Linked DNA regions of Homo sapiens: all the other regions are linked to region 1. The links are contacts of gene promoters, found by promoter capture Hi-C in blood cells and fetal thymus (Javierre and others, 2016). All regions are on one chromosome and are shown on one strand. The core of a region is centred on a gene start or on the middle of the fragment in contact, and the rest is flanking DNA. Distances in the headings are between cores, read along the strand shown.

Region 1 (3,761 bases), core at 385-2,884:
TCATTAGTGGGTTCCAACAGCTGGATCTTGTTTTCCACCTGTCGTGTGAGGAAGTTTACCCTTCTTTGTTATATCATGTCTTGTGCACCACTTCTCAAGGTTAAGGACATGGCCAGATCAACTCTGAAGAAATTCCCCAGGGTTGAGGGCTGCCCCTTGGGAGCAGACAAAGGAGAGAAGAGATGATAACCATTAGACCCGCTGGAAAAAGCTATTCAGAGCTTAAAAAAATGAAAACAAAACCACAAAAACCTCATCTATGTCCAGTGTTTTTTGTGTGCATATTCTGGAGTATCATTTTTAATTTGATCCTGAAAACTGCCTTGTGAAGGTGGGGAGGATGTATTGTTGACCCTACAGGCTCAGACAGCAACAAGGCCAGAATCACATAGGTTGTAAGTTGCTGAATGGGAGCTGCAAGTCCAAGTCTTTGACTCTAAATCCAGCGCTCTGTCCAGAGCCCCGCTGCTGCCTCTGTTGGCAGCTGAAGCTGTCAGTCTGCTGCCCCCTGCCCAGTTCAGACAGGGTGGCTGGAAATGGACCAAAGGATGGAAAAAGAGAATAAGAGCGGACTTGAAGGGAACTGAAAGTATTTGTTAAGGGGAAAGCAGAAGGAAGAAAGAAAGAGGCATGAACCCTGGGGCCTGGCCTTGAAGCACAGTGTTCCAGGGGAGGGGGGATGCCGCTGTCCCCACCCCTCCATGGGGGCCTAAGCAGATCCAGAGCTGCCTGGCCTTCCTGGAGGGTGGCGTCCAAGCATGGATGGGAAGGCAGCAAAAATAGGCCCATGTCACTTCTGGGAGAAGACAAAAGAGGGAAGAGAGGACTACTATAGAAAAGTAGAAAAAGAGGAAGGGAGGGAATCTAGGCATACAGATCGGAAATGTGGAGCAAAACAAAATTTTTTTTTTTTTTTTTGAGACACAGTGTCGCTCTGTCACCTAGGCTGGAGTGCAGTGGCGTGATCTTGGCTTACCGCAACCTCCACCTCCTTTGCTCAAGTGATTCCCCTGCCTCAGCCTCCCAAGTAGCTTGGATTACAGGTGCACGCCACCCAGCCTGGCTAATTTCTCTATTTTTAGTAGAGGTGGGGATTCACCATATTGGCCAGGCTAGTCTCGATCTCCTGATCTCAAGTGATCTGCCTGCTTCAGTCTCCCAAAGTGTTGGGATTACAGGCGTGAGCCACTGTGCCCCGTGTGAAACAAATTCTTATGAAACAAATTTAATTTACATGTGCTTAAACTTTGGTGTCAACTTGCATGGAATCCCCAGGCTTGCTAGATTTTTCTAGTGCCTCCAGCCCTTAGGTCTCTTCCTATGTTCTCTCAGCTACTCCTCCTTTCCTTCAACACTGTTAGCCGCTTATCCAGGGCCCTACGTTTCAGCCCACTCCTCCTCCAGCCCCTCTCCACTCCACCTCCACAATGTCTGTTGGAATGGAACAGTTGGGGATACTGGCTGTTTGGCCCCCATGGGGGTCTCTCCATATAGGATTCAGAGAATTGGAAGACTTCTTGGGCTGAAGCAGAGAACGGGATGCAATTTTGAAACTGGCTTTGTGAGTCACTGTGAACTTCAAGCACCCTCCCACTTGAGGTAAGCTTCACCAGTTTGGCTTGTGGGAACTGTCAGACCAGCTCCAGGCGCTGGGGCTTTCTCAGTGGCCTTGTCAGCTCACAGCAGGCGTTAACAGCCTCTAATTGAGGAAACTGTGGCTGGACAGGTTGCAAGGCAGTTCTGCTCCCCATCGTCCTCTTGCTGACTGGGGACTGCTGAGCCCGTGCACGGCAGAGAGTCTGGTGGGGTGGAGGGGCTGGCCTGGCCCCTCTGTCCTGTGGAAATGCTGGGGCAAGTGGTCACCCTCATACTCCTCCTGCTCCTCAAGGTGTATCAGGGCAAAGGTAAGGAGGTCCTACCTGGCGTGGGGCGAGGGAGGGACTAGGAGCTGTGCCCCTCAGGGAGATCAGAGCCAGAGCCTCTGCTTGTGCCACATACACAGTCATCTGGAACTTGACTCCGAGCAGCTCCTGACAGCTCTGACAGTCTAAATCAGACAGGACAGGCTGGCAGTGCACTGGGAGGTCTGTGAGAGGGGTATCTGGCCCTGCCACCAGCAATCCAGGAAGTCTTGGGTGAGGAGATTCCTTCCCACTGGCTTCAATTTACCCTTCCGTGTAGTGGAGAGAGAAGCCTCCTTCCAGCCGCCTGTAAAGATGATGAAAATTGCATCCTCCAATTGTGGCATGAGAGAAGAGAAGCAGTCCCAAGGAAGTGGGTGGTTCTCGAGCTCAGAGACAGATGGATGGACCCCTGAGGCAGGAAAGCTGAGCCCAGGGAGGGGAGGGCGAGGCCAGCAGCCAGGAAGAAGCTGGAAGGCATGGTCCCTCATCTCCCCGGCTTCTTCAGCCATCCAGATGCCACAGGAGCCTGGAAATTATTAGGGACATGCAGGGTTGGGGCAGAAGAAGGAGACAATATGAGGAAGCTCCACAGCAAACCTAAAGCTGTCAGCCAGGCATGGAGCCATCTAACATTTACTCCTGGGGATCCCAGCTGAGGGCTGCTCCCCTCTTTCTCCAGTTCTGGGGTCCAGGATGCTCTGAAACCTGGATCCCGCATTTAATTTAATTGAATTAATTTATTTATTTCATTTTTAATTTTTATTTATTTATTTATTTTTTGAGACAGAGTCTCCTTCTGTCACCCAGGCTGGAGTGCAGTGGCGTGATCTTGGCTCACTACAAACTCTGCCTCCCGGGTTCAAGTGATTCTCATGCCTCAGCCTCCCGAGTAGGTGAAATTACAGACGTGCGCCACCATGCTTGGCTAATTTTTGTATTTTTAGTAGAGACCAGGTTTCACCATGTTGGCCAGGCTGGTCTTGAACTCCTGACCTCAGGTGATCTGCCCACCTTGGTCTCCCCCATCCAAAGTGCTGGGATTACAGGTGTGAGCCACCATGCCCAGCCAGGGTTCTGCATTTTAGATCAGTGACTCTGCAGGGGCTTCACGGAGGTGGAGAGCGTGGAATTAGAGGAGGGTACACTCTGGGCACAAAGAGGGGAAACTGAGGCATAGTGTTGTGTGGGTTCAGGGCCAGGTAGAAGCCCCATATGCAATAAAGTCCCATGCCCAGGTACTCAATTCAGTTACCGAGTCCCTGAGCATTCTTGTGTCCTTCAGGAAGACACAGTCAAGGCTCAGGTGGACTCAACATTTGTAAGGATGCAGGCAGCCTAGGGCAGAGCATGATGAGGAACAGGGAGCAGGGAGGGAGGAGTGGAGCCTGCAGCTCTTGTGGGTGGGTTGGGGGGCCTAGTGGCCCAGGATTCTAGGCAGGAGAGCTAGGTTGGAACCTGGTCTAAGGATCCTTGAATGCAGCTCAGACAGCCGAAGGAGGACTGATGGGATTGGTGCCTGGCTGTGGGGATGAGAGTAACAGAGAAGCTGAGGTTATGACCCTGAGGTCATGAGCCTGTGTGACAGAGGGCAATGCTCCCTCCACCCCCATTCCCAGGGCTTCAGCACCATAGCTGGGCTTGGCTATGCCGGCCCTTGCACGGTGAAGCTGGTGAGTGACTTGTTAGGCACAGGGAGGGATGGACTTGGGTCTTCCTGAGCTGCTTCCTCCTCCATCCTGTGTCTATAGGGCAGGCCTGGCATAAGTTGACTGAAGCTGCTCTATTTCTTTAATTTTTAAGCTTTTTAGTTTGAAATAATTGTGAAGTTCCAGGGAAGCTGCAAGAATAGTTCAAACG
Region 2 (3,761 bases), core at 392-2,891, 710 kb after region 1:
CAGGGAGCTTCTTACTCACCTTTGTCAGGTCCACGGAGTACTTGGTGCTCAGCTCTTCCAAGGTTAATTTGTGATCATCCTGAGGGGACAGTAGAGGCATTGAGGGACAGGGGGTGGCCCAGGTCATTTCCAGGGAGAGGGGGAGAAACAGACTGGAGAATGTTAGTCCAAACTGAGACTGCTCCATTTTGTAAGCTCCCTGCAATTCTTTTTTTGAGATGGAGTCACTCTGTTGCCCAGGCTGGTGTACAGTGGTGCGATTTCGACTCACTGCAACCTCTGCCTCCCAACAGGTGTTTCTCCTGCCTCAGCCTCCCAAGCAGCTGGGATTACAGGGGCCCATCACCAGGACCAGCTAATTTTTGTATTTTTAGAGGCGGGGTTTCACCATGTTGGCCAGGCTTGTCTCAAACTCCTGACCTCAGGTGATCTGCCTGCCTCAGCCTCCCAAAGTGCTGGGATTACAGGTGTGAGCCACCACGCCCGGCCTAGCTCCCCACTATTTTACAGGCCTTGGTCAAAGTGAAACATTTCACGGGGGTTCGGGCCAGAGAAACAGCCTGCCTAACCACCTGACCACAGGGCAGACGAAGGCCCAATTAAAGACAAAGACCCCACTAAAGAAACATCCCTATCACATCCTGCTGGGCAAAGGTCCAGGGAATACCATGATTATATTCTGTGGAAACAAGGGCCAAAAATCACCTCATCATGAGAACATCTTATCGATATCCTGCCAGGCAGCAGGCCATACAGCCCAGACTCCTCCCATCCATCCCTATAAGTACCCAGCCTGTAAGTGGCAGTGGACTGTGGAATTAAGCTGATCCCCCACTTCCACAGGTGTCTGCAATATACCTGTGCTTGCTGTTGAGCTGCCCTGTCTCTCTGTGTGTATCTTTTTTTTTTTTTTTAACCCTCTCCTTCCCTCCAAAGCCTAACAGAGAAGAGATGTGGCTCTGGCCTGTGTGTTTCATTCTCAAGGTAAGATGTTAAAGATAGGTGGAGGAGTGTTTTCAGAGGGCAGCTGTCAGCGCCCACTTTGGGTGGCCTCACCATGACCACTTCCTTCTTCAGTTCCTCCATATTGCGCTTCTGTTTTTCCCTCTTCACCATTTTTTTCTTGATAAGCCCTTTTTTAGGTCTTCGTCTTGGACTCTGGTCATGGGGAGCCACTGTCCCTTTCTTCCCCCAAAGCCCCATAGCTATCCCCAGAAAGAGCTGCCCGAGCTCAACTGTGGGAAGAAAGCTGAGAGAGTGAGGCAAGGGGAAGGGAAGAGGGCGCGCGGGCAAGGGGGCCACGAGAAGAGAGTGGTGGGGAGAGAATGAGGGAGCAGAAAGAAAGAGGCAGGGAGGGAGGTGTTGGGTGGTGAAGGTGAGAGAGAGGAAGGGAAGTGAGAGAGGAGAGACTGAGCGGTCCTCCAGCCGTCCGCTGGGAAGAGGAAGAGTCAGGAGTGAGGGAAGAGGGAGGAGAGAAGCCTAGGGTGGAAGGATAAAAAGGTAGAGGTGAGGGAATGCAGTGAGGGCAGGAAACAAGAGGTGAAGCGTAACCAGGTGCCTCAGTGATGAAGATGCCGCAAGGCCCACAGGAAGGTGGGAAATGCAGTGAGAGTGAGGAGGCGGAGTGAGCTTCAAGGATCTGGGAACCCCCCAGTCCCAGGCCCTGTGGTTGCTGGGGCAATGACCCAGGTCTGGCATCACAAAGGCCTCCTGAAAGTTCTAACCAAGAATCCAGAAGTCTTGCCTTGGCGATGGTCCAGGTCTGCTGTCGCAAAGGCCTCATGAAGGTTTTAACCAAGAACCTAGAAGTCTCAGTCTTTGGGTTTGAGGACGATTGGAGCAGGCCCTGCTACAGAAAGAGTTTCAGTCTGAGGGCAGAACTAGAACAAAGTTCTTGTGTGGTCCTGCAGACTTTGGAGGCTTAGAGGTATGCCAAATAGATGACTCAAAAATAAAGCGGGTATTCGGCCGGGCGCGGTGGCTCATGCCTGTAATCCCAGCACTTTGGGAGGCTGAGATCGAGACCTTCGTGGCCAGTATGGTGAAACCCCATCTCTACTAAAAATACAAAATTTAGCCAGGTGTGGTGGTGGGCACCTGTAATCCCAGCTGCTCGGGAGGCTGAGGCAGGAGAAACATCTGAATCCAGAAGGCAGAGGTTGCAGTGAATTGAGATTGCATCACTGCACTCCAGCCTCGGTGACAGAGTGACTCCATCTCAGACAAACAAACAAACAAACAAACAAACAAACAAACAAACAAAAAACCATAGCAGGGAGCTTACAAAATGGTGCAGTTGCAGTTTGGACTAATATTCTCCCGTCTGTTTTTGAGACTCCATCTCAAAAAAAAAAAAAAAGCAGGTACTCTGTGTGTGTTTTTTAGCAAGGCACACTTTTCCACTAACATTGGGTTTGATCTTTTAATTTTAGGAGATCAGCTAGCAGAATAGATCAGATCTTGGGCTCTGGAACCAGTCCTGGATTTCAATCCCAACTCCTCCACTTGTCAGCTGTGTGGCTTTGAGCAAGTTACCTAACCTCTGTACCTCTCTTTTCTTATTTTTAAAAGAGGATACCTTCTACCTTAAGTGAGGTGCTCTACAAAAAGCACTATGTGACATATATAGTATGTGCTCAATAGGTAGCTTGAATTCAGTAGTAGTTTTATTTGTGGATTAATATGCAGCTCTTCTCAGTGAGGGTAAAAATATGCTTTTCCATGTGATAGCGTTGCATTTTCTCATTTTAAAATGATGTACTTACCTCTTCCATTGACCTTCTCTGGTGTCTCAGTAAGTGCTTTGACTATATTAACTGTATATATGTTTTGCATGTCCATAGGATTCTACCTCCTTCCAAGAATAATCTGAAGCATCTATACTTTTCTGTCAACCATTATATATATTTTTCAATTATGCACGTCACATAGATTTTCCCATTCTGTTGTTTGATATTTGTTTATTTACTTTTTGAGACAGGATCTCACTTTGTTGCCCAGGCTGGAGTGTAATGGTGCGATTATGGCTTACTCCAGCCTCAACCTCCCAGGTCCAAGTGATCCTCCCACCTCAGCCTCCCAAGTAGCTGGGACCACAGGCATGTGCCACCATGCCCGGCTAATTTTTTTTATTTTATTTTAGTAAAGACGGGGTGCCCCTGTGTTGCCCAGGCTGGTCTCAAACTCCTGGGCTCAAGCAATCCTTGGCCTTGGCCTCCTAAAATGTTGGGATTACATAAGTGAGACACCAAGCCTGGCCTGATATTTATTTAATTGCATTTTGGTTGGGCATGCTTTTTAAAAATATGACTGTATCTGGAAACATTCATCTTGGTGCTGATGCAATCCTCCTTGAATATTCAGAAATAGAAATGCTCCCTTCCCAGCTGGGATAAATGATCGTCTATTTCTTTAACAGATTGGATTTTTCTTCTCTATTAAAAATGTTTAAGATAAAAATTGAAAGCCCCACCTTCCCTCCCTCCAAACTCAGATTCTCCCCACTGCTGAAGTTACTGCTGGTAACAATGTGCTGCATGTCCTTCCAGTCTTTTTTCTATGTTTATACAAATAGATATCTAAAAGGAGGTATTTTTCAACTTTTAAACAATCATTCAACTCTCTACCAACCTGTCATGTACATAAAGCTTCTTTTTTTCAGTGCTGTGAGGCTTCCATATTCTGTATTGACCATGCTCTATTCAATCATTCCCATTACTGATGGATTTATGAGATATTTTCCATTTTTTTAACCATTAATA
Region 3 (3,761 bases), core at 918-3,417, 540 kb after region 1:
AGTGATCCACCTGTCTCCACCTCCCAAAGTGCTGGGATTACAGACGTGGGCCACCATCCCTGGCCTCGTGGTTCAATCTTTGTAGGTTGTATGTGTCTAGGAATATATCCATTTCTTGTAAGTTTTCTAGTATGTTGGCATGTCATTCTCGTAATAGTTTCTAATGATTCTTTGTATTTCTGAGGTCTCAGTTGTTATGTTTCCTTTCTCATTTCTGATTTTATTTATTTGGATCTTCTCTCCTTTTTCCTTAGTTGGTCTAGCTAACAGTTTGTTGATACTATCTTTTCAAAAAGCAAGTGTTTCGTTTCATTGATAGTCTGTATTTTTTTTAGTCTCAATTTTATTTCTGCTCTGATCTTTATTGTTTGTTTTCTTCTACTAATTTAGGGTTTGGCTTGTTTTTTATTATCTAGGTCCTTGAGGTGTATCATTAGATTGTTCATTTGGAGTCTTTCCTTTTTTTTTTTTTTTTTTTGACATAGGTGTTTATGTTATAAACTTCATTCTTAGTACTGCTTTTGTCATATCCCATAAATTTTGTTACATTGTATTGCCATTTTCATTCGTTTCAAGCAATTTTTAAATTTCCTTCTTAATTTCTTCATTGATCCATTAGTCTTTCAGGAACATGTTGTTTAACTTACATGTGTTTGTATTTTCTGAGGTTCCTCTTGTTATTGATTTCTAGTTCTATTGTGTTCAGAAAAGATACTTAATATAATTTCTATTTTTTACAATTTTTTCAAGCTTGTTTTGTGGCCTAAAGTATAGTTTATTCTGGAGAGTGTTCCATGTGCTGATGAAAAGAATATTCTGTAGCCGTTGGGTGAAATGTTCTGTAAATTGCAGTTAGGCCTATTAGATCTAGTATGTAGTTTAACTCCACTGTTTCTTTGTTGATTTACTGTATGGATGATCTGTCTGTTTTTGAGAGTGGGGTATTAGCTCTCCTACTATTATCATATTGTAGTCTACCTCTCCTTTTGGATCTATTAGTGTTTGCTTTATATACTTGGGAGCTTTGGTGTTGGGTGCACAGATACTTATAATTGTTATTTCCTCTTGCTGAATTGACCCCTTTATCATTATATAGTGACCTTCTTTGTCTCTTTTTACAATCTTAGGTTTGGTAGTCTGTTTTATCTCATGTAAGTATAGCTACGCCTGCTCTTTTCTGGTTTCCAGTTTCATGGAATATCTCCCACTCCTTCGTTTTCAGTCTATGTGTGTCTGTATAGGTAAATGGGTTTCTTGAGGGCAGCATATAGTTAGGTCTTCTCTCTTTATCCGTTTAGCCACTCTATGCCTTTTAATTGAAGAATTGAGAGCATTTACATTCAGTGATATTATTGATAAGCAAGGACTTATTACTGCTGTTTTTTGCTTGTTTTCTGGTTTTGTTTTGTTTTTTTTTGAGGCTTCTCTCTTCCTTTTCTTACTGTCTTCTTTTGTGGTTAAGTGATTTTCTTTGGTAATATGTCTTAATTTGATGCTTTTTATTTTTAGTGAGTATATATTAATAGTTTTTGTGCTGTAATTACCATGAGATTCACAAAAAAAAATCTTATAGATAGAATAAGGTATTTTAAAGAGATGACAGCTTATTTTATATCACAAACACAAGAACAAAAACAAAGGCTAAAACACACTCAGAAATTATACATTTAACTCCATTTCTGTTCCTGCCTTTTTGACTATCTCTTTAACATGTTGCTATAGCTATTATTGCTTTTGATATATTTGTCTTTTGGGCTTCATAGTAAAGTTATAAGTGGATTGTGTACCACCATTATAGTAATATAGTCTTCTGGGTTTGTCTATGAACTTAATTTTACATCTTGGGTTTTATATCTTGAAAAGTTTTCTTTTTGCACATTAGTGTTTTTTTTTTTTTTTTGTTTTTTTTTTTTTTTTTTTTTTTACAAATATTGTTTATTTTAATGAAGCTGGTACAGACAATGTCCATTTAAAACCCATATCCCAGGCCAAAAAGTACAAATAAAATCAAAAAGAGCAGTGTTCTGTTGTATTCATTTCTGCATGTATAGCTTTATTAATTGCTAATGAAAATTAGAACTTTTCTGGGATCTTCTGACAAGATTTTTAAAAAATCTTAAAATGCCTTTTCTTCAATGAAGCCATCTTTGGAGTTAGTCATTACTCTCTCCTTATCAGTTATCTTGACTTCAACCCGATATTCCTCTTCTTTTGGTCCAGACCCTCAAATTTAAGAGTAGCTTGAAGTTAAGGAAAGGTCATTTTTCCACAGTTTCAGTTCTCTGAAACACTTCCATCTCCCACTGAAAGTCACAGTCCAGGAGTGAAGTAATCACATGCTAGAACATCAGGGCCAATTCGCAAGTTATTATGAACGCTTGCATTGGTCAATCTTATTTATCACCACAAGCCTGAAAATGCAATGTCCTGAAAAAGGTGGGCTCTCTGTGCACACGTAATTTTTAAAAAGGAGAGGGTAATATGAAGGGGACTGAGGCTTGATCACCAAAAATCAGCACAATGAAAATAAACAATAATGAATAATGAGCACTAGAATTCAGATTACCAGATGTTTCAAAGAGATGGGGTGCCAGTTTTCAATTCCGTTTTTAACACCACATTACAAAAGAACTATTTTTAAAAATGAGAAAGGATTGAGGGAAAAGAAAAAAAATAAAAAGAATATCTAAACTGTTGAATGACCCCCCATTTGTTCCTGATAAACTTCAATCACATCTTCTTCCTCCATTCCCAGTTCTTTTGGAGTATGATTATCAGCAATTCTCTGACCCTCAAAGAGAAACCTGAATGAATTCATTGGAACGCCCTGTCTTTGACAGTATGATTCTTTGAGTTTCTTGAGATGTGTTGTCATTTTCACTTTGAAGTGAATCTCACTGCTATCCTGTCCAATGACTTTGAGTTTAATATATTCACCTTCCTTCTTATCCCCCAAGTCCTCAGTTGAAGGTTTTGCCTCCTGGTCAGACATGATGACAGTGGCTTCACCCGGGGGTCTCCGCACAGCAGCGGCCTCGGGTAAGCAGAACCTCACTCCGGGGTTTACAAATCCTTCTCCCTTCCCCACAGCACAACACCGCAGCTGCAGTAACTTCCGCTACCACATTAGTGTTTTTTTCTTTCAGATCGAAGAACTACTTTTAACACTTACTGTAAGATGGATCTGGTGGTGGTAAATTCTCACCTTTTGTTTGTATGGGAAATACTATCCTTCATATTTGGAAAATAAAATAATCTTGCTGGGTACAGTATTCTTAGATGTCAGGTTTTTTCTTTGAGCACTTGGAAAATGTCATTCCTCTCTCTCTTGGCCTGTATGGTTTGCATTGAAACATCTATTGCCAGACAAATTGGAGCTCCTTTGTGTGTTCTTTGCTTCTTTTCTGTTGTGTATTTTAGGATCCTTTCTTTGTCCTTGACTTTTGAGAGTTTGACTTTTATATGCCTTAGGGTAGTCTTACTTGGGTTGGACCTGTTTGGTGTTCTCAGGCCTTCCTGTACCTGGATATTTCTTCCTCAAGTTTTGGAAAATTTTCTGTAATTATTTCTTTGAATAAGCTTTCTACGCTTGCTCTTGCTTAGCTCCCTCTTGAAAACCAATCATTCTTTTTTTTTTTTTTTGAGACAGAATTTTGCTCTTGTTGGCCAGGCTGGAGTGCAATGGTGCGATCTCAGCTCACCATGACCTCCGCCTCCCGAGTTCAAGTGATTCTCCTCCCTCAGCCTCCCGAGTAGCTGGG

Evidence for each region. Contacts are between HindIII fragments. The CHiCAGO score rates a contact against its expected background, and 5 or more counts as called.
Region 2: a contact is called between the fragment with the promoter of ATP1A4 here and the fragment with the promoter of CD244 in region 1, in 2 of 17 cell types (total B cells and activated CD4 T cells). The highest score is 10.6, in total B cells.
Region 3: a contact is called between a fragment that was not itself captured here and the fragment with the promoter of CD244 in region 1, in 1 of 17 cell types (non-activated CD4 T cells). The highest score is 5.5, in non-activated CD4 T cells.

Annotation. Positions count from the first base shown.
Region 1 is chr1:160,860,760-160,864,520 of GRCh38, reverse strand. It overlaps CD244 (CD244 molecule), which reads left to right and starts at 1,634. Exons shown (of 9, transcript NM_016382.4): 1 at 1,634-1,904. The coding sequence starts at 1,844. RefSeq lists an enhancer at 1,769-1,818. The HindIII fragment of the contact is 2,100 bases long and covers 1,607-3,706 here.
Region 2 is chr1:160,149,483-160,153,243 of GRCh38, reverse strand. ATP1A4 (ATPase Na+/K+ transporting subunit alpha 4) reads right to left here and starts at 1,641. Exons shown (of 22, transcript NM_144699.4): 1 at 1,057-1,641; 2 at 20-79. The coding sequence starts at 1,203. The HindIII fragment of the contact is 4,407 bases long and covers 1-3,649 here.
Region 3 is chr1:160,316,632-160,320,392 of GRCh38, reverse strand. All of the region lies in intron 8 of COPA (coat protein complex I subunit alpha), which reads left to right. It also overlaps the pseudogene SUMO1P3. Among named protein-coding and RNA genes, the nearest start is that of COPA, 25 kb to the left of the region's middle. The HindIII fragment of the contact is 2,829 bases long and covers 753-3,581 here.